Regions from separate parts of the Homo sapiens genome. Here region 1 is linked to region 2. The links are contacts of gene promoters, found by promoter capture Hi-C in human tissues and cell types (Jung and others, 2019). All regions are on one chromosome and are shown on one strand. The core of a region is centred on a gene start or on the middle of the fragment in contact, and the rest is flanking DNA. Distances in the headings are between cores, read along the strand shown. Region 1 overlaps KCNH8 (potassium voltage-gated channel subfamily H member 8). Region 2 holds the start of KCNH8 (potassium voltage-gated channel subfamily H member 8).

The links. The method cuts DNA at HindIII sites, captures the fragments that hold promoters and counts their contacts. A contact is called where the count stands out against the background at its distance.
Region 1: a fragment that was not itself captured here is called in contact with the fragment with the promoter of KCNH8 in region 2 in 1 of the 25 tissues and cell types used here (dorsolateral prefrontal cortex).

What each region holds. Positions count from the first base shown.
Region 1 is chr3:19,195,963-19,198,673 of GRCh38, forward strand. All of the region lies in intron 1 of KCNH8 (potassium voltage-gated channel subfamily H member 8), which reads left to right. Among named protein-coding and RNA genes, the nearest start is that of KCNH8, 49 kb to the left of the region's middle. The HindIII fragment of the contact is 6,856 bases long and covers 1-2,711 here.
Region 2 is chr3:19,147,152-19,149,860 of GRCh38, forward strand. KCNH8 (potassium voltage-gated channel subfamily H member 8) reads left to right here and starts at 1,359. Exons shown (of 16, transcript NM_144633.3): 1 at 1,359-1,644. The coding sequence starts at 1,569. RefSeq lists enhancers at 1-207, 208-801. The HindIII fragment of the contact is 8,005 bases long and covers 1-2,709 here.

The sequences.
Region 1 (2,711 bases), core at 25-2,524, 49 kb after region 2:
ATCTAATATCTGTCTATCTACTTCCTGAGTATGTTTTGTTCATTTCCTTTTTTAAAAAAATTAAAATAGCCCAAGTTAGTTTATTTTTCTTATAAGAAAGTACTCTGTCTGAAACTCAAAACCCTGTTGCCAAGTCTGGCTTATTGGGCCAGGCTGACATTTCTTTTCTTGTGCCAGATTCTCTTCAAGAGACTCAAGCCTCTCCTTTGTTCAGTTATTGTCTTCCTCTACCACTCCAAAAGTGGCCAGGATACTTGCATATGCCTAAACCTCATAAAAGAAATAGTTCTACTCTTTTTCTGAATCTTCTAGTTCACATATATATTGATAAAAGGATTAGGTACTATTTAGGAGGTGAGGAGAGGAAAAGTGACATCTAATCCCATGTGTTCGGAAGTTTCAAATTTCTGCTCTAATCCAATATCATAGGTATTATCACTTAATGCTCAGCACCAATGTAATGAGATAGGTACTTTTACTCAGTGAAAGACTGAAATGAAAAAAAAAAAGATCTTGGCTTCATTGGAAACCTAGATTTCCTTTAGCACATCCTTCCTGGTTATGTTTATATGGAGGTCTCTGTACTGTTTATTGTCTTTAAAATAATTACAACTCTGTAAACTGTGGAAAGTGGATAGAAGTGCATGTGATTATTGTCTGTGGATGTGTGAATACATCATGCTTGGTGGAGGCTAAATTGACTTCCTTTCTCCGCCGTGGAAGAACCCAGTTTTTAGTCTATTTGTGTGGTTCTCTGGATTCTCCTTTGAGAATCCAAAAAAATCCAACTAGTTGACTGATTATCTTGTTAATTAATAAGTTAAATAAAATGTTTGATACCTATATGCTTTATGTTTGTTTGAGGGATTTTATCTTTTAAAAAATTATCCTTTAACAACTTGATTTTACCAAATAGGAAATATTACACTTTTAGTATCCAGTAATGTAAACATAGCTAATAAATAGCAGAGGTGGAATTTAAATCCAGATTTTCCAACTTCAAATTCAGAATTTCCCAAATTCAGATTTACAGAGGAAAGAAGTGATAGGTAAAACAGGGGTCCTATTACTTCTGTCCAACTCTGTACATTAGTGTTCAAGTAAGCTCATTTTCTCCAATCTGTTGCCTTTGATTTTTGCTTTACAAGCTACTGAAAGATTATTATTCTGAAAAAAATGCTTTATTTCTCTTTGTCCTTCCCCTCAGTGACTTCCATGGTCAGTTAGAAATATTTTGAACTGTTGACTCCAGAATTTAATCCACCCCCAACAATTTTGCCCTCTATACCCTCCAATATTATCTCACAAGCAACACACCTTATTCTTAGTCATCTTTGTTTTCTCGGATTTAGTTTTCTCTGTTATGAGGCCTTCTTGTACTCTGTTTTGCTGAACCTAATAAACCTTGAAAAATCATTTTCAGTGAATTTTTATCTCTCCCATAAAGTTTCCCCAAATCTATCTGGCATTGGAGCCATTGTTGCCTCCTCTAAAAGTTAGCACGTGTCTGTTTAGACATTTAGCAGTTAATATTAACAGTTGTCTTTGGGGTATGTAAGCATTTGTGCATCATGTCCTTAAAGGCAATTTAGTGCAGTAGTTAAGAATACAGGTTTTGGAGCTGGACTTCCTGGCTTCAAATCCCAACTTTGCCACTTCCTTTCTCTACAACCTTGGGCAAGTTATCTAAATTCTCGGTGGTTTGGTTTCTTTATCTCTAGGAAGACCGTGAGAGTTCCTATGTAATTGGATTGTTGTTGGAATTACATAAGTTAATACATGTCGAGTCCTTACAGATATATTTGCTTCAAAGTTGTATAAAATTTTACTGTTATTGTTGATATTATTTCTATTTTACTATTTCTTGGCTTACTTTTTTCCAACTAAATTTTAAGTTATTTGTGGAAAGAAATAATTTTTTAAAATTTGTGCAGTATTTTTTACAAATCTGATGCGTAATCACTGGGTAAAGAGGAGCTATTGACAAATGCTTTTGAGCAGGGTTTTGTGTATCAAAGGCAGTGTTTAAACAGTTTGCAGCAAGGTGTGGGAAAGGTTTTCGGAAAGGTTGGATTAAGGACTGCTGCAATAATTCTAGCATGTTATAATTTTTTATAGGTCTCCAATTGCAAACATTTATTGAGTATTCGTCATGTGCCTGACATAGAGATAAAACCTATTGATTCATAATGGACAAATAACCATTCCAATCTTCAGAGCATTTAACACCCAGTACAGAAAAATTAATAAATGAATAAAGAGGGGCAGTCCATTGCTGAACTTTATGTATAGGGACAGGATGCAGAGGGAGAGTAAGATAGTGGTGGTTTCTTGAAGGAAGTAATGCTTAAGCCTTGAACTGGAGGAGTTGGGTGGTAAAAATGGGGTATTATTCCAACCAAGCAAGTAGAGCAAACAAGGCGGAACCAACATTGCAGTGCAAGACAACCGCAGTGGGTTCAGGTTTGGCTGTGGTACAAAATAAAGCTGGAGAAGTCACAGAGGTCCATCCTGCCGTTTAAAAAAAAGATTTGGACCCTTTCCTACAGCCAATAGAGAATGTGTGCAGATTTGAGTTTCTAAAATAAGTCATCAATAACTTTTTCAGACTATTGTGATTCTGTTTTGCCTCATTTTAATATTATAGAAGTAAGGATATATTTTGCACGGACAGAATTAATATGATAGTGACCCTTCCTTACCCCAAGAAC
Region 2 (2,709 bases), core at 109-2,608:
CCCCCCCGAAGCCCCAACAGCCGAGATAATTGAAACAAGAAACCCCCTTAGTAAGGGGGCGGGGGGTGGGCCCTCCCTCCCTCCTCCCGCCACGCCCGAGTTCCTGGAGATCAGAGCTGCCTCGCCGCGGCTCTGACACCTGTTTGCTTTTTCCCTCCTTTCCTTCCGGGTGCACTAGCACCTGGGCTTACGTTTGTTTTTCTACCCTGGGGCTCTCAACTTCCCTTCCACACTCCACCTCCCTTGCAGAGTTTTCTATAAAGTTCGGGCTCTGGGTGTCCCCTTGCACTCCCCACAGGGCTGTGCCGCAGGCTTGGGCGACTTTCCCCGCAGAACGTTGGCCGAGAGGGAGTCCCCGCGGGGGGGGCCAGGGGGGAGGACTGGGAGAGACCACTTTCGTTTTCTGAGACGCCTTCAGTTCCTGGCCGTCCGCCAGGCTTTCTTCTTGGAGGTGTCAGTCTTCGGGAGTGGGGGCTGGGGAAAGGGGGGCAGGCTAGGGGATTTGTGTTTGAAGCTATTTTTGGAAGGCAGCCTTACTGTTTTTACTTACGTGGTATTTTGCAAATTAATAAAAATAGCAAACTTTTCTAGAAATGCTTTATTCACATTTTACCGGAGAATGGGAAACCATCCATTGTCCGTTCAAAAGGCTATTTTTTTAAAGTTTGGGATGGCTTGGGGAGGCCAATGGCAATTTGGGGAGAAGGGCTGAAGCACCCCTTTTTGGAGCTCGGGGCCAGTTTCCCGGACTAAAAGACCCTGGTGACTGGGGATGGGCCTCACAACTAACTCGGGCTGCCCTGCCCCTGTCGCGTGGGCTCGCAATGGCAAGTGCTCCGGAAGGGGGCCGCCTCCCCGTGGGGCTCCTGGCTGCCTCTGCTCCCTTGGACACCACTGGGGGGCCTCCCCCTCCTAAGTTCTAGGTTGAGGCCGGATACCTGCCCCGACCTGTCTCCTCCCTTTCTCCAATACCACACCCACGGGACTCCAGTCTCCCCGGGAGTGGGACGGAGAGGGAACAAAGGGGTCTTTGTTCACTGGCTCCCGGGGCGTGGGAGTTGCGCTCGCTCTCCTTTCCCGGCGTCCCGTGGAGACCGGGAGGCTCAGCGCCTCTCCCAGCTCTCAGCGCCGCCCTCCCAGACCCCAGAGACGTCGGTCAGGGCGCGGCGCCCCGGGCCACTGCGGGCTCTTTCCGGGCGGGCGACGTGGGGGGCGAGGCACCGCGCGGCGGCGCCTGGCGGGCACTGTTGCCCGCGGAGGGACGGTGGGGGGGTTTCAGCAGCTGGCGGGGGTGGAGGGGGCGGGAGAGGGAGCCTGCGCCGGGCTGAGCCTGGAGGTGCGGGGCGGGCTCGGGGAGCGCTCTTGGGGCTCCTCCTGCCACAGCCGGGGCGGCTGGAACTCTCTCCCTTTCTCCCTCCATCCTTCCACTTCCCCTGCTCGGCCCCGCCGTCAGGCCGGGTCCCCCTTCCCTGCCGTCATCAGGTTCCCCTTCTCCCTTCTTGGCACTTTCCTTTCGAACCATCCTTCTGGACAAACTTTGATGGAGAATTTCACACCACGCTGGAAAAATGCCGGTTATGAAAGGATTACTGGCGCCGCAAAACACCTTCCTGGACACCATCGCCACCCGTTTTGACGGAACACGTAAGTCTTACACTTGAACGAGTGGTATGGCATTTTCTGAGACTGATTTTTCTCGTACACATTACTTTTGCTCCCACCTTCCCTTTTGCACCAGCGGAGTGAATTTTCTTCTGTTCTTGCCAAGGTATCTTTTGTGCGGAGAAATTTGTTCCCTCATGGTTTGGTGTAGTATTAACACTTTGTATTGGTGTAATAGTTGGCTCTCTTGAGTTCTTGGGTTTGTTAAGGACTGAAACGCAGCCTGAGGAAAGACCGACGCCCGTATTCACTGTGGGACCTGCATTTTGGTGTATCTTTAGGGAATTGGTTGTAATTTTCTGAGGTGAAAAGGGGAATATCGGTGTACCTAATCTTTCTAGAGTTTCAAGGCTCCCTAGATCAAAAGGAGAGCTTGGAGTGTTCTTTCTTGGAGCTTCATTCCGTGATATATTTCGGATAGGTATGATTTTCTATCTGAGTTTAAGAAATGCAGGATTGCCAAGTGTAAGCTTTCTGTAGAATTTTAAGTGTTGTGAGTTTGTCAGAACCTTGATTCCTGCTTTTGAGCTAGAATAGCGTATCTTTTAATCCTTAAATGAGCCTAACACTCAAGCAGAGGCTGTTCAGGAAGAAGGACATGAATAAAGACGATTTGATGATAAGAGAAAGTTTTTAGTTTTTTTTTTTTGAGTACGAATATTATTGGACATTTAGCTCATTTAAGCTACAGTAGGAAAAAAAATAGATAGGATGTTGTGTGGTTGCTAGCAGACGGTTCGTTATCATCTGCAAGTTGTTCTCTTTCAGGACCACGGTCAGGTCCCCACTCCTTCTCAGGCTTTTCAAGCTCTCTACTTGACCCTGTGGATCTTCCTAGCTGGCTTTAACCCTGTAATTAGGAGTCTGTACTACCACCCCTAACAAATGCTCTCAGTTGGTTTCACTACGAATATCCTCATCTTCTTTCTAGCTTATCTTGCTTCTGTGCACTGTCTTCCATTTTTCTGTTGAGACTCAGAGAAACTCATTTATCCTAAAGTCCTTCTTAGTGGTTCAAGTGTCATTGCTTTTACTCTGTATATTTCT